Linked DNA regions of Homo sapiens: regions 1, 3 and 4 are each linked to region 2. Evidence: promoter capture Hi-C in 16 types of primary human blood cells and fetal thymus (Javierre and others, 2016). All regions are on one chromosome and are shown on one strand. Each heading gives the region's core, a stretch centred on a gene start or on the middle of the fragment in contact. The rest is flanking DNA. Distances are from core to core; before and after follow the strand shown. Region 1 has its middle 13 kb from the start of LGR5. Region 2 holds the start of TBC1D15 (TBC1 domain family member 15). Region 3 has its middle 46 kb from the start of LGR5. Region 4 has its middle 29 kb from the start of LGR5.

Evidence for each region. The method cuts DNA at HindIII sites, captures the fragments that hold promoters and counts their contacts. A CHiCAGO score of 5 or more calls a contact.
Region 1: a fragment that was not itself captured here is called in contact with the fragment with the promoter of TBC1D15 in region 2 in 1 of 17 cell types (activated CD4 T cells); the score reaches 5.4 in activated CD4 T cells.
Region 3: a fragment that was not itself captured here is called in contact with the fragment with the promoter of TBC1D15 in region 2 in 1 of 17 cell types (activated CD4 T cells); the score reaches 6.9 in activated CD4 T cells.
Region 4: a fragment that was not itself captured here is called in contact with the fragment with the promoter of TBC1D15 in region 2 in 2 of 17 cell types (total CD4 T cells and naive CD4 T cells); the score reaches 5.2 in total CD4 T cells.

What each region holds. Positions count from the first base shown.
Region 1 is chr12:71,425,693-71,428,392 of GRCh38, forward strand. No RefSeq gene overlaps it. Among named protein-coding and RNA genes, the nearest start is that of LGR5, 13 kb to the right of the region's middle. The HindIII fragment of the contact is 1,093 bases long and covers 887-1,979 here.
Region 2 is chr12:71,838,355-71,841,054 of GRCh38, forward strand. TBC1D15 (TBC1 domain family member 15) reads left to right here and starts at 1,405. Exons shown (of 17, transcript NM_001146213.3): 1 at 1,405-1,457. The coding sequence starts at 1,428. The HindIII fragment of the contact is 6,842 bases long and covers 1-2,700 here.
Region 3 is chr12:71,392,533-71,395,232 of GRCh38, forward strand. No RefSeq gene overlaps it. Among named protein-coding and RNA genes, the nearest start is that of LGR5, 46 kb to the right of the region's middle. RefSeq lists a silencer at 17-311. The HindIII fragment of the contact is 1,546 bases long and covers 570-2,115 here.
Region 4 is chr12:71,409,374-71,412,073 of GRCh38, forward strand. No RefSeq gene overlaps it. Among named protein-coding and RNA genes, the nearest start is that of LGR5, 29 kb to the right of the region's middle. The HindIII fragment of the contact is 713 bases long and covers 1,019-1,731 here.

The sequences.
Region 1 (2,700 bases), core at 183-2,682, 410 kb before region 2:
ATGAAACCTTTCTCTGAAGCAGAGTTAGTTTCACCTCCTTCTTTCCCTAACAGCATATGTTTTCATCCTGGTTATTGTGCAACATTTTAATTATTTGTTTTCCATGTCTCTTCTCAACTCAGCAGTGAACTGTTTGAAAGCAGGTTCCATATGTATTTATTCCCACATTCCCAGTGCTTGGCATCTATTTGGATGGGCAATCAATGTCTTTGAATAAACGCATTCTGGTTAAGATTGGGAACTGAAGCTTCACTAAAACTGGAAACTGTGGCCTGTTAAATGTAACTCAGTAAGAATGTTTCACTAACAAATGTTCCCAACAGAGTTGGCCCCAAAATTTTGTGACATACTCTGCTTTCATGAAATCATGATAAATGTTCAAAGTACTCATATCATTAGGAAAGAAGAAAGGAAGCAAGGAAGGAAGAGAGGAAGGAGAAAGGATCTATTTGTGTGTTTCTGTCCTCCCATTTCTGTAGAGTTGTAAAGACTCTCTTAAGGGGAAAACCCCTAAGGAAAAGAATGAAAAGTCCCTTATTGCTGTTATATAGTAAGTGTTACTTCATGCGAAGCCCTTTAACACACATTAGCTTTCATTCTACTAACAGTTCTACAGACTTGGTGCAATTATCCTCATCTTGCAGATGAAGAAACTCAGAGATAAGTTTCTCCAAGTCTCATAGCTTATAAATGACTGAGTAGAGATTTGAATCCTGGCTTGTGGGAATCCAAAGGCTATATTGTGCTATTATGCCATACTCCCCTTCTACTAGGTGACTCAGCCAATGACCCTCACCCCATCCCACCCATTTCCAGCAATCCTGAGGGGAAAATAGGGAGAAAATATGAGTGAGAAAAGCAGAAAAGATATGAGCAAAACAAATAAAGCTTGGTAAGAAAACAAAAGGGATCATCTCTTTAAAAATGTATTCAGACTTTTTTAAAAACAGCAATGAGATTTATCTTGGCAAACTGCCCATCTAAAATCCAAGCAAAAAAATCAATGAAACTTAAAATCAAAATGTTATTTCTTATTAAAGAACAATGAAAGCAAGCAGGGTCATTTTGTTAATCCACAACCATAATAATACTCGACAAAAGGTTTCTGTAAATTTTAATTGCGGTAATCTGGACAGTGTTTTACTATGACTCATTGACTAGAGCCGCAGTGTTTATGCAATATGTTTTACCCTGCTTTATGAGATTGTAATTGCAGTGAAATGCTACTATACATACTCAATTAAAATACACCAGACTTATCAAAATACAACATTTTGGGAAATAGCATGTTTTTACTTATTTACTTTATAAATCCTGCATGTCCTTGGGATAAAATCCACAAAATTTATTCTTCTAGGTGAGCTTTATCATTCCATCTCCTTACTTTTACTATTTCTGCTCAACACTTCTGATTTTCTCTATTCTGAAATATGCTTACCCACTGTATTTATTCTCTAGCGTTTGAGAGAGTTAAGCCCTAACATATAGAATGCTTTATACTAGCCTTTTCACAAATGTTTGTCAAGAGTGGGAATACAGGGAGTTCTGCAAAGGGGACTGTGCCCTGTACCTGTACTCTGCAAAGGGGACTGTGCCCAGTAATGGCTGCTCATCTCATCTGAGCTGGCTACTTCCTTTCTTCTCTCTCTAGGTTTTCCTCTCAATGACACTTTCCACCTTTTCCTCATACAATGAGTTCTGTTGCTTTTCTGTCTTCTTTTTCTTCAAAAAATAGTTTATTGGATAGGTATTCCATGGTTGGGTGATGTTTACAGATCTACAGTTCCTTAGCCAAAAACATCAGGGTGACAGATGTTACAGAATTCGGAATTTTGGAGGATTTTAGAAATAGAATATATTAAGAGTGATATCCTATATATTACATAAAATCTTCAGTTGGGTTTGGGGAAATACCCTACAATCAAACACATCCATATTTCTGCAGCAACTTCAATGAATATTTACATGACATGAGAGAAAGCTTATAAATAGATTCACATCAGTTCAGTTTAAATGATGCCACCAAATATGTTTCAAAAAAACCTTCCCTTTTCAGAACTCTTAGGATTTCAAAACTGCAGATGAAGGATTTTGGGTCTATACATACTCTAGCTGCAGGACTTGGGGGAAGCAGCTTTGCAAAAAAGGAACCTGTTAGCACTTCATCATTTTGGAGCACAGCCCAAGTTTGTCTGTGCCCTGCCATTTAAGTACGAACACATGGACATGATAGATGGTTAAAAATCCTAAAAGTGAAGTTCTAACAAGACCAGAAAAAGATCCATCACATTGGGCATATGGAAGTATCCACGTCTGGAAATGAAGGTAATATTTGGCAGAATTAAATAAAGCACACAAATGAGCAGGAAGATCATGCAATTTCAAGTATTTTGTTATTTTTTTCTCATTAATTTTATTCCTGGTTTTAAAAGAAAACCTACCCCTAGTTTACATGTGAGTTTGATTGGGCATATGTTCTCAGGAAGCAGGCTGCATACCAGTAGGAGCATGTTCATTATCATACATGGAATTAGACAAGGGGATCAAACAGAGTTAAACAATTGATAATATCATATACCACTGTCCTTTCTTTTCGAACGTTGTGAACATGTGGATATATTTAAAGGTTTCCTTTATGTTGGATAAAATCAAGGACAGATCTGATTGATTTTACATAATAGGCTATTTCAAAGTAATGAA
Region 2 (2,700 bases), core at 155-2,654:
CCCACCTAAGGTTCCACCACTTTCCTCACCTATTAGGTTCCTGGTAGTCACATAACCGGCAACTCTCCTTTTCTGTCGTTCAGCTAGTTGCCACCTACCTCAACCAAACTCAAAAGCCTCTAACCCCTCTCCACTGTGTGAAGACGGAAGTACCTCAATGGACACAAGTGTTTTTGGTGAAAGGGACTTTTTATTCTGCCCCGGAGCTAGGGAAATCCCAGATCTGTGCCAGAGTTATCAAGGGGGTAGTATATAATCATTCTCTGCATTCTTTTACAGCACTGAGAACAAGTAAAATTCTTACCTTAGTATCTTTACAAATCATTTTACCACACATGTATTGTCGTATGAAATCCCTACAACCACTCCATGCAGGAGTAATTCCCAGTTTACATCCTGAAGCTCTGATAAATTTAGAAACCTGCTTTAAGTCACAGAGCTAATAAGTAATGTGTAGGTGCTATAAACTATGTGCCTTGGGCTCTGCAGCTATGAGGGCGTGGTATTATCACAGTTCCTATCGAAATACCTTGCTGGAGGTCATGTGTGAGTGGCAGTGACCAGACAAATAGAGAAACCTCATATACAGAGGGGAAAAGTCTCCATGTATAGTGCCTGGGATATCTCCATGTTAGTGCTGCTCTTTCTTGGATCTTCACCGCAACGCCACTATCTTGATTTTACTATAAGAAACTGAGGTTTCGAGTGCACTGGTGATTTGCCTACTGCCACAAAACCAGGCTAATGGGCTGGGCGCGGTGGCTCAAGCCTGTAATCCCAGCTCTCTGGGCAAAGGCTGAAGCGGACGGATCACCTGAAGTCAGGAGTTCGAGACCAGCCTGGGCAACATTGGCGAAATCTCGTCTCTAATAAAAATTTAAAAATTAGCTGGGCGTTTGACGCGCGCCTGTAATCCCAGCTACCCGGGAGGCTGAGGCTTGAGAATCGCTTGAACCGAGTGGCGGAGGCTGCAATGAGCCGAGATCGCGCCACTGCACTCCAGCCTGAGCGACAGAGCGAGACTCCTTTTCTACAACAACAACAAAAAACCAGGACAAATCTTGCTGGCTTCCAGTATGGTATTCGTTTCATCTCACCAAACTGGCGTGGCCTGCGCTAGCTTCAGAGTCTCGACAAACTCCAATACAAGTAAGGTACACATTATTTTAGCAGTCTTCCTTGGGGAGGACGTGGGGCAAGCACAAGCGTAGCGTTAGGCCTGAGACTCCACCCCAGCCGTCTCTGAGCCCAGTTCAGCACGCACGCGTCAGGCGGCTTTTTTCCGCCCGGCTCCTTTCCTCCACTCCCTTCCCGCCACTCCCCGCCCTTTTCCCGCCCGGATGTTATTCTAGTTTTGCCGGATGTTGTTGTATGTCCGAGAGACACGTGAGGTTCTGCTACGTCATTACCAGGCACGCGCAGGAAACATGGCGGCGGCGGGTGTTGTGAGCGGGAAGGTAGGTAACGGCCTCCAGGAAGACCTCGGCTTTTCTCTGGGACGGGGATGCTTTTGCTCCCTGGCAGCTGGTTGGGGGAGGGACACGAGGGACTTTCTGTGTCCGGACAACCCGTGGCGTCTGTAGGAGAAGACTGGGTGGTACCAGCTGGTTTCCCGAGAATGCCAGTTCAGCCGCGGAGTTATAGAGCCGGCTACTGCTCCAAGGCCAGCTAGGCCTCGGCGCTCTTCTGCCCCAGAGCAGAGAGGCTTTTATTCGTATTACCTTTACTAAGGGACAGGTGGCTCTCTAGTTCCTTTTTTCCCCCGATTCACTGTTTCTTGACTCTAGTTCTTTATGTCTACTCTTCTGACTCCAGCGTCTTTTCTCTCTTTGAAGCGTTAACCCGACTTGCCTCTGTCTTCTTTGCTACAGTTTGGTGAAGATGTTTATGCTTCCTTCGGGAGGAGCTGAATAGATGCTAGGCAGCTAGCTGTGCGCTTAGAAGAAACGAGTGTATTGGGTCTGTTTTTACCAAGCTGCTGAGTTGGTTGGTGGTTGTGAGCAGCAGGACGTGTTTCCTGAGAGAAATGGAGATTTACACCATCCTGTGCTTGTCTAGGAAGGCGTCCAAATATTTATTTCCTAGGCATTTCAGTAGGAGTATTGGTCATGCTGGTTTACGGAGGTGGTCAGTGACACGCCTAATTTCGTTGGAAACTAGAATTACGTGCGGAGATTTCGTCGAATAGTGCCTATTCGCGTTCCGAGGGCACATCTTATGCATAGTTAGGGCTATCAGCTTTATGATATGCCACCGATAGTATTTCCCAGTGCAGGAGTATTTCATAAACAGCTGGAATCAACTGAAGTGACTCATCGAACACTAATGGTTGTTTACTCATTGCAGATAGCGTCCTCTGTTCCTTGAGTTTCACTCATGTCTCCCTGTTGCTTTCCCTACCCCATTTTGAATTATTTGACAGCGTTTGTGGTTTGGTGTTTGGAGTATTAGACTAGGCGGCTGAATGACAAATATGGGCTTGGTTTTGCTGTTAATCTGAAGTATGACCTTGGAAAATTGGGCAATTGTGACTTTTGTCTTTTCGCGTTCTTTATCTGTAGAATGGAGGAGATGCCAATCATTATTTCTTGTATTGGAGTTGTTAGGGTTATATAAATTTTTTTTTAAAAAAACATAAAATTACACACTTGTACCTACTGGCTCTTTTAAAGGATAGGTGGGCATCCTTTTTTGGATTAT
Region 3 (2,700 bases), core at 93-2,592, 450 kb before region 2:
TTTGGAAGATAGCTCCAACGTGGGAGCCACTCTGAGACAAAGCTAGAACCCCCAAATGGCCACGAGGAGCTTATGACGCAGACTTTCAGCAGTAGCCAGAGGACCCTCTTTTCTGAGGCATAAAACATGGTACTGACTGAAGAGCTAAGGCTAGTGAAGGCAGTCGCTGTGTCCTAAAAGATGTTGTCTACAAAGTGTCCTCTAGTGGTCAAAGGCTATCACTGCATGTTAAAAATAGCAACCTTTCTCTTGTAAGACCATGAATCAGCTCTCACCGGTACTGGGTAGTTAATCTGGTGATTATTATTTTTCAAGTATATAAATGGTTTCCCACTTATCTTGATATCAGGAGACAAAGAAAACAAGGTCATTAAAAGTGTCCTGATTTAGTGGCCAAAAAAGGCGGTAGAGCCTAGCAATTAAAAGCGTGATTAGGAGTTAGGCAGCCTATGTAAATAAAACCTTGCTGTACTTCTTACTCGCTTCGTGACCGAAAAAATGAATTAAACTTTTTGCTTGTCAGTTAACACATCTGTAAAGTGGAGATAACTTTATTACCTCATAGGATAAGCTTCATAATAATCCTATAAGGTAATAAATATTAATCAAATCTGGAGCCACCTTAACTCAGAATCTTTTTTTATGTTATAATAAATTATCCTCACTTTTAAAGCTGCTTTCCATGTGTGTTTTCTACTATTATTTTCAGCCATTGCCATCCTACAAATACACTGACTATTATAAATAAATATTTTAGATTAGAATGTGCAGTCTTACTACAGGCTAGAGTTTAGTGTACTAAGGATTATTCTATTATATAGATTATCTAAGCCACTAACTAGGTAGATGAGAAAACCAAGGCCCTTAGAGTTTCGATGTCCTATCCCAGGTCACACAGTTAATAGAGTTGGGATTGTCTGAAACTCAGTAGGCCTAACTCCCAGTCCAATGCTCATTTATCATATGATTTATTTCACTTTTCTTCCCAATCCATAAAAGTCACCACAGATCACACTCCAGTGCAGAGGGAACCAAGAAACCAACTGCTTCTTCAACATAGTTTCCAGACATGGCAACAATTAACCACTTTTTGTAGGCAGTTAATGGATTAACACAACCGCTAAGATTATAATGAAAAGATACTGGAAGAACCACTGTGAAAGCAAAACATCGGCGAGTTCACATCTTACTGAAACATCAGTAATTAGACATTGATATGTGAAAAAATGTAGGCAAATGATGAAACCGGGTTAATGTACTTACTCCATAGCCAACCCATCAGACTACCTTCACCCACTTCCTGCTTTCAGTCCAGCCCTGATAAGAGTTATTTGGCTGTCATTCTGCCTTCCCTCCAGTTTACCTCCTGCCATCTCTTCTTAAATCTGTAGATATGTAATTTAATGGCATCACTATTGGCCCAATGGCTTAGACCCAAAACCTGTAGTCTCTTTAGATGTCTTTCATATTCCATACCCAAACCATTAGCAAATTCTGAATTTACCTTCAAAATACATTCCAAATCCCATCACTTCTCACCAACTACACAGCTACTACTTTGATCCTTTTCTTCATAAACCTTCACTTTGCTAACTACTACAACTGCCTCATAACAAATACTTTGCTTCCACTCGTCTGTTATAGCCCAAAAAATGCTACATTTAATTATTTCTGTGTTTAAAGCCTCCAGTGGCTTTTTATCACATTCAAAATAAAATCCAAACCTGTTACCTTAGTTTACAAGCCCATCTTAATATGATCCTTGGCTCTACTTTCCAACTGCATGTCCTGTTCATCCCACTCTACACTGCCCTCCTTGCTGCTACTTGAAAAAGCCATGCTTTTTCCCAATTTAGGGGTTTTTGTCTATGCAGTTTCCTCTGCTGAACAGATTTCTCCTCCCAGTATTCCAATAAGTGGCTCTATCGCTTCAGTCAGGTCTCTGCTCAACTGTCTGTCACCTGTCAAAGAAGCAGTCTCTATTTCATCTACATTAGAACACCTATCATTCTATCCCTTCATCCTGCATATTTTTTCTTAAAGCATTTATTATTACCTTACATTATATTACACATTTGTTAACTTTTTATTATTTGTATCTTGCACTAGAAGATAAGCTTTGTGGTGGCACAAACTTGTTTTGTTTACTGATGTTTCCCCAGCTCCTAAAACAGTGCAGAGCACACATTAAGTACTCATAAGTTATAGTCAGAGAAATGAATTAATGCCTCCATATTTCACCTCTTAACTTCTGAGCATTGCCCACTGTTTTCCAGTTTGAAAACATAATCCATGCACTAATTAACTATTCTTAGATGCCGCATCACAATTTGTGGTTCTCCCTCTTTCACTTCAAGTACTGAAAGATACAGATCAATTGCTGGATGTTAAAGTGATCTAATGGTAGAAACTGTCTCTCAGCTATTTATAACCAGGCTACAATGCCTGAAATTCTATAGCAAGCCTCTATAAAATTTCTTCAGCTCTCACAGCTTGCTGTCACCACATTTAAAATTGCTTTATGGGATTGAAAGGTGGAGGCAATTTGTGGTCCTAAGTAAAACTACTTGCTTTCAGTTAGTTTGGCTGTGAAGCAAGAAGATGGTGAGTATCCAGGATGTCAGCTGTGATCAGCTTGTCTTACTATCTTCTGTTAAATATGGCACACAGGGCCGGGCGTGGTGGCTCACGCCTGTAATC
Region 4 (2,700 bases), core at 125-2,624, 430 kb before region 2:
ATAGATAGATTGAGCAAAAACTTTGTTTTTTTGTTTTTTGTTTTTTTTTTTGAGACTGTCTCACTCTTGTCGCCCAGGCGGGAGTGCAGTGGTGCAATCTCGGCTCACTGCAAGCTCCGCCTCCCAGGTTCACTCCATTCTCCTGCCTCAGCCTCCCCAGTAGCTGGGAGTACAGGCACCCGCCACCACGCCCGGCTAATTTTTTGTGTGTTTTTAGCAGATACCGGGTTTCACCGTGTTAGCCAGGATGGTCTCGATCTCCTGACCTCGTGATCCGCCCGCCTCAGCCTCCCAAAGTGCTCGGATTACAGGTGTGAGCCACCGCGCCCAGCCAAGCAAAAACTTTTTAAAGCAAATGAGGAAATATGAAAATACATAAGTAATATAAAAGAATAAACGATAATATGTAGAGGGACAAGATGGCAGATAGAAAACAGGGTTAACGTGCAGCTCTCACTTGGACAAACAGAACAATGCATGGAGACTCACACCGTTAACTTTTGCTCCAAGAAGCACTGCAGGAATGAACCAGGAAAACCAAAATAGTTCACAGATGCATTGACAGAAGCAGCACACCACTGCGTATTCCATGAGACAGTTGAAAAACTGGCAAGTGCTGGTAACCATGGCTGGCAGACCTGAAGACCAGTCACATCACAGGACTCTTTGCAGATATTCCCCAGCACCAGCTCAGAGTCTGGTAGCCCCACTGGGTGACCAGATCCAGAAAAACAATAACAACCATTGTAGTTCAGCTCTCAGGAACCCCCATCCCTAGGGGAAGTGGAAGAGCATCATATCAAAGGATCAGCCCATGGGACAAAAGAATCTGAACAGCAGGCCTTGCATTCCAGACCTTTCCATTGAAATATTCTACCCAAATGAGAAGAAACCAAAATAGTAATTCTGGTAATATGACAAAACAGAGTTCTACAACACCCCAAAAAGATCACACTAGCTGCCCACCAATGGATCAAACCAAGAAGAAATCTCTGAATTCCCAGATAAAGAATTCAAAAGCTTGATTATTAAGCTACTCAAGGAGATACTAGAGAAAGGTGCAAACCAACTTGAAGAATTTTTTTAAATACAGGATGTGTATGAAAAATTATCCAGAGAAATAGATATCATAAAGAAACAACAATCACAACTTCTGGAAGTGAAAGACACACTTAGAGAAATATAAAATGCACTGGGAAGTTTCAACAATAGACTATAACAAGTAGAAGAGAAAACTGCAGAGCTCAAAGAAAAGGCTTTCAAATTAACCCAATCAGACAAAGACAAAGAAAAAAAATTAATGAGCAAAGCCTCCAAGAACTTTGAAATTATGTCCAACAGCCAAACCTAAGAATAATTGATGTTCCTGAGGAAAAAGAGAAATCTAAAACTTTGAAAAACTTATTTCAGCCAATAATTGAGTGAAACTTCCCTGGCCTTGCTAGAGATCTATACTTCCAAATACAAGAAGCTCAAAGAATACCTGGGAAATTTATTGCAAAAACATCATCACATAGGCACATAGTCATCAGGTTTTCTAAAGTCAACACAAAGGAAAGAAGTTTAAGAGCTGTGAGACAAAAGCATCAGATAACCTATAAAGAAAAACCTATCAGATTAACAGCAGATTTCTCAGCAGAAACTTTACAAGTCAGAAGGGATTGGGATTCCATGATTATCCTCCTGAAGCAAAACAATTGTCAGCCAAGAATTTTATATACAGCAAAACTAAGCTTCATAAATGAAAGAGAGATAAAGTCTTTTTCAGACACTGAATTTGCCACTACCAAGCCAACACTACAAGAAATGCTGTAAAACAATTCTCAATAGTGAAATGAAACTCTGAAGTACACCAAAGTAAAACCTCCTTAAAGCATAAATCTCACACGGCCCATAAAACAATACAATGAAAACACAATGAAAAAGAAAAACAAGGTATTAAGGCAACAACTAACATGATGAATAAAATAGTACCTCACATCTCAATACTAATCCTGAAGGTAAATGAATTAAATGCTCCAATTAAAAGATACAGAATGGCAGAATGAATAAAAATCCACCCACCAAGTATCTCCTGTCTTCAGGAGACTCACCTAACACATAAGGACTGTCATAAACTTAAGGTAAAGGGGTGGAAAAAGATATTCCACGCAAATAGAAACCAAAAGTGAGCAGGAGTAGTTACTCTTATATCAGACAAGACAGACTTTAAAGCAACAATAGTTAAAAAAAAAAAAAAAAGATCAAGAGGGACATTATTTAATGATAAAAGGATTAGTTCAACAGGAAAATGTCACAAACCTAAATATATATGCACCTACTACTGGAGCTCCCAATTTGATAAAAACAATTATGACTAAACCCAAGAAATAAGATAGACAGCAACACAATAATAGCGGGGACTTCAATACTCCACTGACAGTACTAGACAGGTAATCCAGACAGAAAGTCAACAAAGAAACAGTGGACTTAAACTATATCCTAGAACAAATAGACTTAACAGATATTTACAGAACATTCTACCCAACAACTGAAAAATATACATTCTTTCATCAGCACATGGAACATTCTCCAAGACAGACCATATGATAAGTCACAAAACAAGTCTCAATAAATTTAAGAAAATTAAAATTATATCAAGTATCCTCTCAGACCACAATGGAATAAAACTGGAAATTAATTCCAAATAGAACTCTCAAA